Linked DNA regions of Homo sapiens: region 2 is linked to region 1. Evidence: promoter capture Hi-C in human tissues and cell types (Jung and others, 2019). All regions are on one chromosome and are shown on one strand. Each heading gives the region's core, a stretch centred on a gene start or on the middle of the fragment in contact. The rest is flanking DNA. Distances are from core to core; before and after follow the strand shown.

Region 1 (6,657 bases), core at 1,562-4,061:
ATTTCTCAAGAACAACACTGGAAGCTGGACGAGGGACTGTTGCCCAGGCAAGGGTAATGATGGATGGGTTCTGGGATCTAACCACAGTACTTCTCAAACAGCTTTCTTCTAGCCTTTCTTGTTTAACTCCTCTTTCACCCTCCAGTTGCAGAATACCTTGTGCTGCCATTTCCTGAGGATCTTTTTTGAGGATTTCTGTGTTAATCGTGTTATTTCTGAGTTTTCCCCACTACTGGCTTAGGGTTCTGCCATCTCCAGGCTCCTAAGGCAGCTACCACTAGTCCAGCTGCTGTCTAGCTTCCAGGGTGATTTTGCTGTTGTCTTCTCTCTGTTCTTCCCACCTTTGTGGGCTTATGTAATTTTTTTTAATCCCTGTTTTACAGCCTTTGCAGGGTTTCAGAAGAGGTCAAAATTAGATGGGACAGTCTGTTTTAAGACTCACCTTCCTTTTTTTTTTTTTTCTTTTTTTAGAGAGAGAACTTTACTCTGTCGCCCAGGCTGGAGTGGAATGGTGCAATCTTAGCTCACTGCAACCTCCACCTCCCAGGTTCAAGCAATTCTCCTGTCTCAGCCTCCTGGGTAGCTGGGACTACAGGCGCCCGCCACCACAGCCGGCTAATTTTTGTGTTTTTAGTAGAGATGAGGTTTTGCCATGTTGGCCAGGCTGGTCTCCAACTCCTGACCTCAAGTTATCCACCCACCTTGTCCTCCCAAAGTGCTGGGATTACAGGCATGAGCTACTGCACCCAGCCGAAAATTTACCTTTCAATCTCTCATTTCTCTCTAGCACTAGATTATAGTTACCTACGTTGCTTTCCAGTTCAGAAATAACCTTTTAAAATTTACTCCTTCCATTCAGCCATGTTTGTAAAGACAAAACATGTCCATTCTTGGCAATGCTTTGTTCACACTCCACTTGGAGGACCAGGACAGTATGTCAGGACATCTTTACTTCAACTATGTAGTTGGGTTGTCACGCAAAGGATGCTGAAGTGCCTCCCTATTTTCTTCTTTCTCGTTGCTGCTACTTTCTGGAACCACCACCAATGCTTCATATTTGGGAATTAGTGACTCTCATTCCATTTTCAGAAAGCTGGTGTCAACTATCCCAAGAAAGACAGTTAAGCAAACTTTGGAGAGACGAAATAGTAAGGAAATAACTTGTTCCTTAGGCTTAACTTGTCAAGCAATATTTCTGATATTTTGCATTCAATACACTGCCATTCTAGTACTGTTGTGGGTATTACTGTATGTGGGAAACAATGGTGTCATGGATGTTAGGAAAAGATGCTGGGATATATATGCCTGCTTAGAATCAGGAGAAAAGACAAATCTCCTTTCACCCTCCTGGTCAGCATAAATATTTTTAAAGATTGTTTAGATTTTTGTCAAGATTTCTTTCTCTTGATGAATTTGTCCTCGATTCAGTGGGGAGAACCAAGAGCCTCTCTTCGTTTCTCATCCTCTCCCTTCCCTCTAGTTCTCAGTTTTCCCATTTTTCTGCACAAGGACAGAAGTGGACTAGAAGATTACATCTAAGGTCCCGTTTAGCTCACGATACAGGCCCTCCCAGAGGTGGGGGTGTGGGCAGGGTCATGTTCCAAGTTCTGCCTCCCTCGATGGACTGTGGGCTCCCAGAGGGCAGAGCTAGCTCTATTCTCATGATTAAGGACATCGAGAAGGAAGGGGTGACGCTCCTAGGAGATGATTTCCCACCCCTGTCCACAAGGAGGATTGGGGCAGCCTGGAGAGGCTCAGTGCCCGCAAGAATTAAGCAGAAGTTGGGACTGGACTGTAAACTGATGCTGTCGCACATGCTTTGGTTCCTGTCCCAAGCCTCCCAGGTTGCTCCGGGTGACTCTGGCCCAGCTTCTGGCTATCCATGAACACAAGTAGTCCCAGGGAGTCATTCTGGCAGAACCCAGGTCTGCTAGCTAAGAACTCCTGAACCATCCGCAATCTCTGCCTGTGGCCTGGACTTGGTGTATGGCCGGCAGGGTGGAAGGAGAACCCACAGGGCCTCTGAAGACAGGCAGGTGGCACACCTGCGGCTGGGAGGATTTGGAAAAGGAGTCCAGCGCCATTCATTTTTCATTCATTTTCCAGCCCAACGTTTGACCTGAATGCTTCACGCTCACACTGCACACACTACTCCATTTATAATACAACTCGAGAAGGGCACATACTACTCCATCCACAGCTCAGTGAAGGGATGCATACTACTCTACTCACAATTCAACGAAGTGGTGCATCTGCCTCTAATTTACTAGCTACCCTGGGGACCTTGGACACGTTGCGTGTCTGGAAATACTGCAGGTGATGTGTGTGGAGTAGGCTGCAGGCTCACCGTCCTGCAAATACTAGCTGTACCACCACCGGCTTTAAAGTCCAACAGACCTCTGGCCCAAGTCAAGTAGCAGAGGATCCAGGGCTTGGGTGGCCCACAAATAGGATTCTTCTCCAAAACGAGGCGCATAATGGCCTTTGTCTCCTCGACAGAAAAGGGAAGGTAGACTGGCTTCCTCTATGGGCGACCTTCGCGACTCTGGAGAAAAAGACCTCATCATTCTCAGACTTGGGAAGGAAGACTAAGCCCGGAAAGGTGGGGACAAGTCCGCTCCAACGCCGCAATGGGGAGTAGTAGGGACCCAGCAACCCGGTGCCGGGAGCCCTGCACCCTGGGAGGGAGAGGCGGTCGCTGAGGCAGGAAGAGGAGGAGGAGAGAGAGGAGGGACGCACCGGGTCAGCTCGCGATCCTGCTGCGCAGGGCGGGGCTCGGGCCGGTCCGCCCGCGCGCAGGTGAGTGAGCCAGGGCGGAGCGCAGCTGCGCCGGGCTTGGGCGCCTGGGGCCGCCGCTCCCCACCGTCGTTTTCCCCACCGAGGCCGAGGCGTCCCGGAGTCATGGCCGGCCTGAACTGCGGGGTCTCTATCGCACTGCTAGGGGTTCTGCTGCTGGGTGCGGCGCGCCTGCCGCGCGGGGCAGGTGAGTGCCGGGCTTTGGAGGCGGATGGCGTGGAGTGGTGAGCTAGCCAGCCAGCGGACGCCCGGCGGAGATGCGGCCGAGGGACGCAGGGTGCGGAGGGTGCGGAGGGTGCGGAGAGAGGGCGGGGACGGCGTAGTCAAAATGCGCGGGTGGCTCCGGGACCCCCGGACTGTTCGGTTCCTGCGCGCGCCGCGTCGGGCGCGTGGGCCTTGCCCTCCTGGAGTCAACCTTGCCCTCGGCACGTGAGAGTGTCCCCGATCGGGGAGCCTCCCGGTCCGGGAGGATGAGCCCGGTGCTGGCCGAGAAGGCGGGAAAAGGAGCTCCCGGTAGCCGATCCCAGGCGACATGTCCAAGGTGGCGCGCCGTGCGCCCCAGGGTCTTTGCCGGGATTCTTGAAAGCACCCAGGCAGGGTGTGGGAAGAGATCTTTCCTCTCCAGGCTCGCCCTCTACCTCCTCGCCTGGTCCAGAGAGAAGGTGCAAAAAAAGTGCTTTCACGTCCGCATTTCCCACTAGATCCCCTTTTTCCCGTCCGCACGCTGCATTCCCCCTCTCCTAAAGTTGAAGAGCGTTGGTGCAAAAATGAAAGCGCCCGGATTTCTTTTAGGGGGTCCCAGAGAAAGCCGCCAGGCATCTGCGCCACCGCAGAGACTGGACATTCCCGCGCCCCTCGCACTTTTTGGCAGTGGACTTTGAGGGCAGGAGGCTGTTGTTCCGGGGATATGTGTGAATTTCGAGTTGTTTCGGTTGGGGGAAGGGACCAACACGTCCCAGTGACCTGTGCCAGCCAGGAAATGCCCTGTGGGCCCTGGATGTATTAGAACGTAGTAAATAACCTGGTTTCTTCATGTAAGAACTTGATGTGAGGCTAGTACAGGTTTCGCGAGATTAGTACAGGTTTTGTGTTTTTTAAATAGAGCTCTCCAGGAAGCCATGTGGGTTTGATTCCCCTTGCTGCATCTAGGGTGGATTTGTGTTTGGCAGGTGTAAATTAGATAAAGGAATAAAAGGACGCAAGTGAGGTTGAATTTGGGCGTCCCGGTGACTGCCGTCTTTACAAATACAAGACAGGAGCTTCTAAAATATCAATATAAGCTCCAGGAATACTTCCTGGTTCATTCTCCAACATCAGGTGACATATTGCTGCATAGTAGATAGAAAATTTAAAACTTCATTTAAACCATGGCATGGATTTATAAATATATATATAAATTATATATATTAAAGTAGAGACAGGGTTTCACTGTGTTGCCCAGGCTGGTCTCGAGCTCCTGAGCTCAAGTGATCCTCCCACCTGGGCCTCCCAAAGTGCTGGGATTACAGATGTGAGCCACTGTGCCTGGCTGATGAATATTTACTATAATTTCTTAGGACTGAATTTCCAAGATTCCCTTTGAAGAAAAAGAATTAGTTTAAGAATAAAAAGGAAGTGAAAATATGTGTATATGTGTGCTGAGAAAAATGCGTGCCTACCAGTCTTGGAACAGTATTGAAACTCTGGGAATTATCTGAGATGTTTTTGGCTTTCTGTGACAACAGTGGGGAACTCTTCCAGTCAGAACAGGGTGTTAATCAAGGCATTGCTAATAATGAGAGCCTCTGTTCCTGGTCTCATTTCTCCCTGTGATCTGGGAAGGCTGCCATTTTGGTCCAGTAACTCCAATGGAGTCCCTTCCAGGAAGTCCTTGACTGGCTGAGCCCTGTCTCATGGTTCAATACATAAATACGTAGAAACCTAGGAACTTTCCCTTTCGCTTTCTTAAGTTCCTCCCTATGGTCTCAGGAACTGGCCCTTTGAGGGTACATCAGGCTGAACTGAGAGCTTTTGTGGTTGGAGTAGTTGCCTGTAGTCTTGAGGATCTAAGTGGCAAAGGCCTTTGAGAAATTCCTGGAGACTGTCCTGAAAGGATACAGAAAGCCAGAGCCCTGGCACAGTGGATTTGTTTTATAAATCCATGAAGTCTCTTAACAAAGAAAGACTCAGCAGAGTAAAAATGAATTTGGTGTCACTGCAGAGATGAAAAGTAAAGGAAAGTTTGTGTCTTGGTGTCGTGTGTTTGTGTGACTTTGGTATCCCCACCAACTCCCCCATTTCCAAGAGTGAAACACTGGTTACATTGGGATCATAGCCTTTTGAAAACCTCCATTTGGTTGCTTTCTAAGAACCACTCAGATACCAGAGTCTGGGTCAGTGACCCCAATCTTGCCACCATTGTCTCTTGCCAAAAATGTGAGCAGACAGATCAAATGATATATTCACACTCCCTGGGTGAGTGTGGGTGTTCATTCTGTTTCCGATTCAAATGAGGAGCTACTGGCTGTTGTCTGGAATGTGTAACTGGTAGCGCTGATGAGTCTCCCCCATCTCCTCCCCCACATCCCCACAGATTTGCATGACTTGGAGTCAGACCTGTTAGCCCTAGGGCTCACCTCAGATGCTGCCATTTCATCTATGATGGTTGCACGCCTTGCATGTGCACACACACACTCTTCTGGGTGTTCTCCCTGGCTATCAATATGGGGGAAGGAAGTTAATAATTAAGATGTTTTAAGTAGCATATAGTTATTGTAGAAAAAGTGGCAATAAATATAACCAAAATGGAAAAAAATTATCTATAAGCAAACTGCCTTATTCACTTTGATGCAGTCTTCTTAATGTGTATGTATGCACGCTCATGTGCACAAACCAAAAATGGGATCATCCCATTGTATGGCTTTAACCAGTCCCCAGTTGTTGGACATTTAAGTTGCTTCCAGTTTTTCTTATTAAAAATAGAACACGTCCAACAATAGCCAGCTGCTTGTATCAATTTTAATAGGTCTATTCAGTGAAAAGGCACTTGAAATTACATAGCACAGACTAGAAAATGACATGAAAGGATGAACCATTATCCTCATGTTGCCAAGGTTATAAAATGGTATCAACTGGATTATCCCATTTTGATGTATCTAAGAATGTGTTCTTCAGCTGTGTTGTTCTGCACACTCTTTTTTTAAATTTTTGAGACAGAGTTTCACTCTTATTGCCCAAGCTGGAGTGCAATGGCGCGATCTCGGCTCACTGCAACCTCCGTCTCCCAGGTTCAAGCTATTCTCCTACCTCAGCCTCCTGAGTAGCTGGGATTACAGGTGTGCACCACCACACCCAGCTAATTTTTTGTATTTTTAGTAGAAACGGGGTTTCACCATATTAGCCAGGCTCGTCTCAAACTCCTGACCTCAGGTGATCTGCCCGCCTCGGCCTCCTGAAGTGCTGGGATTACAGGCGTGAGCCACCGCGCCCATGTTCTGAACATTCTTAACTATTTTGTCCAGCTACAGTTCTGGAAGCAGAGTTGCTGGGATGAAGAGTAGAGAGGCTCTTAGGGCTTTGGACGCGCATTTCCACGTTCTGGAAGCAGAGTTGCTGGGATGAAGAGTAGAGAGGTTCTTAGGTCTTTGCACGCGTATTTCCGTGTTCTGGAAGCAGAGTTGCTGGGATGAAGAGTAGAGAGGCTCTTAGGGCTTTAGTTGCGTATTTCCATGTTCTGGAAGCAGAATTGCTGGGATGAAGAGTAGAGAGGTTCTTAGGGCTTTGGATGCGTCTTTCCATGTCACCTGTGGAGAGCCTGTCCTGGTGTGCTTTCCAGCCATCAGTGTGTTAGTGCTTGTTTCTCACATTCTCCCAGGCTCTCCT
Region 2 (7,188 bases), core at 703-3,202, 370 kb before region 1:
ACAGGAGGGAAGTTCGGGGAATCAGGGGGAGGTGTTTTACTGGGAAATGCTAAGAGGGGGCTGCTCTGGGGTGCTACGAGTAAACCGAGTGCTGCCCCCCAAGGTTCTGAAATGTGCCACTAGAACATGTTGGGAGAAACACTGGGAGTACCCCAGTTCTGGAAGAATGTGTCTTGGGCCTGGGGGCTCTATCCCTGAGGTGGGCTTTCAAAGATGGTCTGGGATAGGAGGTCATGCCTGAGTTGACTCTGTTACATACAAATGAAAACCCTGCCAGAAGCTGAGGTGGCACTTTGGCTGAAGGGGGCTGCAGCAGAGGAGCAGACGGCCAGTCCAGGACCAGGCTTCAGGGGGCGCAGGCCCAGAGGGAGCTGAGGCTTAGAGACCTCACAGCCAGCGGGTCTCTCTCCTGCATCCTCCCCACTCTAGAGGCAGATGCCTGCTTGCTCAGTAGCTCTCAGGCCTGGCCTTGGCTCTCTGGGAGTACCTGGATGGGACCAGATGGGCCATTCTTACCTGTGAGATCCACTTCCTCTCTCTGTAGATACTGTCCAGATGGTAGGCGGAATGTCTGCCCCTTGATAAGGCCTTGGGCCAGCAGCTTATGAAAAGGCTCCCTGAGGAAAGATGACAGGAAAAGAAAACAGGAGGAGTGGGACATGAGGCATTGAGAAAACAGCAACGCAGACCTTCCCTCGGATGGGCAGAAGTAGCTGCCCCTCATAAAAGCAGGCGGGCTGACCAAGGCCACTTATAAACCCAGCTTAAACAAATGGCTCCTTAGAAATAAGTGATAAGAAAATAAATTCAGGCTGGGCGTGATCCACCTGCCTCGGCCCCCCAAAGTACTGGGATTACAGGTGTGAGCCACCCCACCTGGCCTAAAAAAAGTTTTAAACCATACAAGTCATATATGACTATAAACCTTCTGTTCAAATCCAAACACTACCACTCCTTTCTAGGCCTATGTCCCTTTCAGGAGGCAGTTCTTATTAATAGTTTGGTATATATCCCTGGAAAAGTCTGGAGACATTTTTCAATGCCTTTGTATACATAAATGTGTACCTATCCACATATGGTTTTTATAGATTTTTGGGGATTTATATAAGTGGGATTATACCTTATGTATACTTTATGGTATTTCACTTAATGATATGAATGGATTTCTCCATGGCAGTTCATATAGATCTATCTCACTTTTTAAAAAGTTACCTAGTGTTCTGAAATATGAATTGATTATAACTTATTTATAGTACCTGTTTTAAAAAGTAGTTTTAGTTATACCCTTACTGGGTAAATAGTGACATATAAACTTTTTCTCATAAGAGGATAAGAACAGGTTGACCTTCATACTGAAATTATTGCAAATTTGCAGTTGTTTATTCTTAAGAATCTGCCTGATTCAATTTTGAGGCATTTCAGCAAGACCTATTCCAAACTCAAAGAATGATTCATGGCGATATCTGCTGATAACACACGTTAAGTATTTCGTGTTCAGGGTATCAGGTAGGAGCACTCATTTCCTGGAGATCCAGTGATGTTCCCCACAAACATCACCAGTACATGGCTTTGGTTGCTCAAGGTAAATTTTTAAAGGTGTTTTTAGGGCAAAAGTTAGGAGAGAATGATCTGGATTCAAAGATAAAGATAGGTAGGATGATCAAAATCAGCAGCATTGGCCAGGCGCGGTGGCTCACGCTTGTAATCCTAGCGCTTTGGGAGGCCGAGGCAGGTGGATTGCCTGAGCTCAAAGTTTGAGACTGGCCTGGGCAACATGGTGAAACCCCGTCTCTACTAAAATACAAAAAGTTGGCCAGGTGTGGGGGCGCGCACCTGTAGTCCCCGCTGCTTGGGAGGCTGAGGCAGGGGTTGCTTGAGCCCAGGAAGCGGAGGTTGCAGTGGGCCGAGATCACGCCACTGCACCCCAGCCTGGGAGACAGAGCGAGACTCTGTCTCCAAAAAAAAAAAAAAAAAAAAAAATCAGCAGCATTAAGCCTCAAGAAGGGGCTGGGAATCCAAGGAATCCTATTCTTAGGTCTTGTATTTTATCAAGTGGCACAACACTGCCACCTTCCGAGAACGGACAGAATTGCAACCTGCGAAAAACTGACTAACCCCAGCTGTTCAGCCTAAGGCTGCAACTTTTGCCTCGTCTTTTATAACTTTTTTTTTTTTAAGGTAAACTGTTGAGGTATAGCACACATATTGAAAAGTGTAAGTCCTAGCGGTATAATGATGAATCTTCACAATATAAAACACACTTGTGTAACTGGCATTCAGCCCAATTAGCAGAACGTGAAATCAACCTTCCATCCGCTTCTAGGCACTGTCTCCTCACTATGGGCCCCTATAGCCTGACTGCTAACACTATTATTTCATCTGCCTGTTTCTAACCCGCTTGTAGCCATTTCTTAGTGAGAGCTCTCAGGGGATGTCCACATGGGAGGCTTTCCCCAGAACTGGCAGGCAGGTCCTCAGCAGTGCACCCACACCAAGACCTGCTAGTTACATGAATATATCCTAATGTCTGAAAGCTTCCAACAATGAAACTTGACAGTTGAAGCTCTTCTGGACTGTCTTCTCTGAGGGTTGCAGTGCAGCAGGGGCCATCTCAGATGGATCATCTAGAGCAGGGATGGCAAAACCTAGCCAACTATCCCCAGTGCCCTTGCCTACAACCACCCAGACACCATTCATCGACAGCAGCACTCCTGGTGCTCAGAACGAGTCTCTGAATTCTTCTTCGTACCATATAATCAGAAAGCACAGAGTTATTATGTGAAATGTATCACTTATTTCTTTGGTATTTCTTGAGTGCTTGCTATGTGCCTGGCACTGAGCTAGGCACTGGGGATATAATGTTGGGCAAAGCAATCTCTGCCCTTGGGGAGCCAGCCTGTTTACGATCACTGAACCAAACCAATGCCTGACAACTCTCAGAGCTGTGAGGGAGGAAAAGAAAGAGTGCAGTCATATTTGAAGAGCTCCTCCTCCCAATCAAGTCCAAATTCCTCCGCATAGCCATCCAGGACTTCTCCCTGTCCCCTGCCACTCCCTCTGCTCTTTCAAATGTTGCCTGCATGTGCTTCCACGTCTTTACTCACGCCATTTCCCAAACTGTTATCAAAACTCTAGTCCTCCTTCCTGGCTCAACTCAAATGCCATCTCCACTGAGAAGGTATCTCCTGGTCAGAATTAGAATTAGTTGTTTTTTCCTTCCTGATGCATCCTGTGTAGTGCCTGTAATTGTATCTAGCAGCTATTACATTTTATTGTGTATTTAGGTAAGCTGCTTGCCTGTCTTTCTCCTGTGAGGAGTAGGAGGATGATTTTTTTTTGAGACAGGGTCTTGTTCTGTCACCCAGGCTGGGGTGCAGTGGCACAATCACAGCTCACTGCAGCCTCAGTCTCCTGGGCTCAAGTGATATTCCCACCTTACCCCTGCAAGCAGCTGGGACCACAGGCGCGCACTACCACACCCAGCTAATTTTTTGTATTTTTGGTAGAGATGAAGTCTCACTATGTTGCCCAGGCTGGTCTTGAACTCCTGAGCTCAAGCAATCCTCCTGCCTCGGCCTCCCAAAATGCTGGGATTACAGGCATGAGCCACTGCTCCTGGCCTTGAAAATCCTTAAAGGCCACTCTCAGTCTCCAGTTCCTAACAGATGCTCAGTAATGTTAATTGCCTTGAACTCAATCAAGCTTGTTTCAGTGGATGAATAAACCTACCAGCAGCAGGGGTGGGGGATAATGTGAGTAGGACAAAGTGGAGGCAAGAGAGGAGGGAAGAAAGAAATGAGTGAAGTGGGGCACTGGATGCTATACTTTCCAGCTAGTGCCACCATCTTTTTGCAGGGAGGGGTGCATTGAAAGATCCCAAGCAGCTGAAGCAAGAGAATGAGAGCAGGGGAATGCCCCGATGAGTGCTCACATGGAATTTCCCAGTGGGGAAAGGGGCGCTTCCCAGCTCCTAGAATCCTGCTCATTCCCAAGTGTTTTCCCTCCACTTTTCCAGGGAGCCAGGGAATGGGCTATAGGGAGTTGGGAATCTGGTTTTCACTCTTGGCTGAAGCTGGCCATGTCTACTCTCATGCGTAGTTTAGCTCTGAATGAGTCACACTTGTTTATTCATTCAACATGTATTTACATGATAATTGGGTACACAGCACTAGGCAATTAATTGGAGAGCTTACAATAAGAACAGGCAGCCCAGGACATGCTCATAAATAACCATCAGCACTACAAGAAAGACGTACCAAATGTGATTTGGAGGCGCAAGGTGCACAGGAATGAAGGACAAAGGACATCAAGGGCCCTGCTGGACTTGGAACCCAGGCCTGCTGGAGCAGAGATCACATCACATTGCCAAGTTCATTATTCAGATTCACAATTGGGGTAATGTGTTTCCCTTTTGTTCACTCATTCATTCACTCAACAGATGGTACTTGGGAACAGACTTGCGTATGCAACTGAGTTATTCATTCATCATAGTGACTGTGCACAGCAGGGGCCTTTATAAGTGAGTGGAAAATCTGCAACTCTAAACCACTAACAAACCGTTCTGACTCAGGGACCATCAAACGCGGGAGTATTAGGCAGGGCCTCTGCCTTGAAGAAGGCCCTGGATTTCTGAGTCAGCTTTCTTCCTACTCCTTCGGTACATCCCTGGAGGTAGATCATGCTTGCTTGCACTGAAGCACAGCTATATGTAAGCACAGTGATGAAAACTGGGGGGAGATCTTCACAATTTCTTCATTAGTTTAGACTGCACTAACTCAGAAATTGCAACAACTGATAGCTGCTGGGCATTGAAGGCCACATTTGTCCCACTTGGAAGAAGGAAAGAAGGAAGGGAGGGAGGCAGGGAAAGAGGGGAGGAAAGGTAGGGAGGGAGGAGAGGGAGGAAGGGAGGGAAGGAAGGGAGTTGCTAATTATTAGGATAAACAAGGAAATTCAGAACATTGATTGATTGGCCATGTTAAGTGCTCTTAAAAAAATCACTATATACAAGGAATGTGCTAATTACAGTATGAGCAAAGAATATCAGGATGTATCAGAGCCCCACCTTCTTGCTGCAGATGACATTTACCTATTCATGAAGCCCCAGAGAGCCTGCTGCCCACTCCCCTGACCTGGTGCGAGAGTGGCCTGCCAGGCTGCAGATCTTTGAAGGCCATAGATCTCTGAAAATGGTCTCCAAATTGGACTTTTCATTAAATCAGACTAAGTTTACCTTCCTCTTCTTCCTTGTTCTGTGCCCAGGGCCATCATGTCACATAATTAGCCTAGTTTCTAAGTATTAGCCATGGCTCATTCTTGAAATATCACCATTCCCATTTCCTAGCAGCCAGTTAGTGGCGCAGAAGGAGGGTTTACTAATACAGCAGGACCCAAGTAAAGCTTCTCTTCCCTTCCTGTTCCTTTTCCCAGTAGCCCCGTTTCTGGCATGATCAGAGTAACAGAGAAGAAAGCTCTGTGGATAGGGGCTTGCTGTGCTCTCCACGGTCAGCAGGCGGCCTGCCCTTCTCATGGGAGCTCCCTGAGCAGCTGCTTGCTTCTGACAGCCACCACTTTCTGTTGATTCCAAACTGAAGGGAGAAATTCAGTTTGGGGAATTTAGTGTCTAAGTTGCATTACAGAGCTACAACAAAAAGTGACAAGATTCCATGTTTACAGCGGTCTCCCACAAAGGGAGAGAAAAGGCTTCCTGATCTCATTCAGTGAAGATGGGCCATGACATGTTCCCACGCTCTAATGTGCCCCCTCTCTTTCAACCTGGTGCTAACCACCGGAAGGAGGGAAGCTGAAAGCTGATCCTACCCCACACCCACAACCACAGCAGGAGGCTCAGCATATTTTCCTTCTTTGGAATATATACCATACTGTAAATGATAAAGTTACACAATCATTGTAAAAAATCTGGAAAAAATCAGAAGTATATTGGGCTCACCACCCAGAGATAGCTAGTGTTAACATGTTGGCATGAGTTTTTCAAGTCTTTTCTCTTGCTTTGAGTATGTGTATATATGTGCTTGTATATATAAAGACAAAGATAACCAAGCTGTATCTTGCTTTTTCTATTTCTCATTACTTCAGATGAATTTCTCCATGTTATTAAACATTCTTTGTAATTTAATTGAAAGTGTTGTATAAGTGTGCTCCACGTAGATGGATTATACTTTATTTACCCTGTCTCAGCATTTTGGGGCATTTAGATTGTATCCAAATTTTTAGCTACTTGAAATAACACTTACATGAACATCTTGGTGCATAAGTTTGCATTTCTGATTATTTCCTTAGGATAGATTTTTAGCAGTGCAATTAGTGCACCCAAAAATGAATAGTTTTAAGGCTCTCACTATGTATTGCCAAACTGCTTTTCAGAAAGATTGTTCCAAGCTACTTCCTGCAATATATGAGAGCTGCTCTTATGCTAGCTTCCTTACTACATGGAAGATGGCATCTCACTGCTGAATAATTTATATTTGCCAGTGAGGGAAATTTTTTTTTTTAAAATCATAGAAATGGGGTCTTGCTGTGTTGCCCAGGCTGGTCTCGAACCCCTGCACTCAAATGATCTTCCTGTCTTGCAATCCCAAAGTGTTGGGATTACAGGTGTGAGCCATCGTGCTGGGACGGAAACATTTTACAGTGTAAGATGTTTATTATTTTATAGTGTGATAAAATGTTTATTAATCATTTGGATATCTTCTTTTGTGGGTTTCCTGCTTACATTAATTCCCGGTTAATCATTAACTTGGTATTTCAGATCACACAACTAAGGCACCTGCTGTCCTGTGTGGTGGCACACTTAACTTGGAGGCCAGCCTCTTACGTAAGGTAAGGAGACCTTAAAGTACAAACTGCAAGCCTAACTGTGCAGGTGATGAAAAAAAATGTCCACAACTCTTACAAAACAGGAAAGATGATTAGATATACATAAACCTTTGCTGTCTGTATTTGAAGAAATTAGAATCAGAGTGAAAAGAGTGCTCAGAGATAACTGAGTTCCTAACATATGAGGCCACTGAGACCCAAAGGAGTTCAGCTTCTTGTCCACACAGCTAATCAGGGGCACCACTGAACATGGACAGAGGTCTTTGGATTCCTGTTTCACAGCTGCTACTTGAGACAAGGGCTGAGGGGCTCAGAAATGTTAAACTAAAATGGAATAGCTGTACTATCATC

What was found. Contacts are between HindIII fragments. The study calls those that stand out against the background at their distance.
Region 2: a contact is called between a fragment that was not itself captured here and the fragment with the promoter of CDCP1 in region 1, in 1 of the 25 tissues and cell types used here (H1 embryonic stem cells).

Annotation. Positions count from the first base shown.
Region 1 is chr3:45,142,532-45,149,188 of GRCh38, reverse strand. It overlaps CDCP1 (CUB domain containing protein 1), which reads left to right and starts at 2,811. Exons shown (of 9, transcript NM_022842.5): 1 at 2,811-2,983. The coding sequence starts at 2,902. The HindIII fragment of the contact is 13,721 bases long and covers 1-6,657 here.
Region 2 is chr3:45,506,564-45,513,751 of GRCh38, reverse strand. It overlaps LARS2 (leucyl-tRNA synthetase 2, mitochondrial), which reads right to left. Exons shown (of 22, transcript NM_015340.4): 16 at 517-617. It overlaps LARS2-AS1 (LARS2 antisense RNA 1), which reads left to right and starts at 4,207. Exons shown (of 4, transcript NR_048543.1): 1 at 4,207-4,395; 2 at 6,770-6,840. RefSeq lists a silencer at 3,841-4,135 and an enhancer at 4,962-5,828. The HindIII fragment of the contact is 5,198 bases long and covers 1-4,551 here.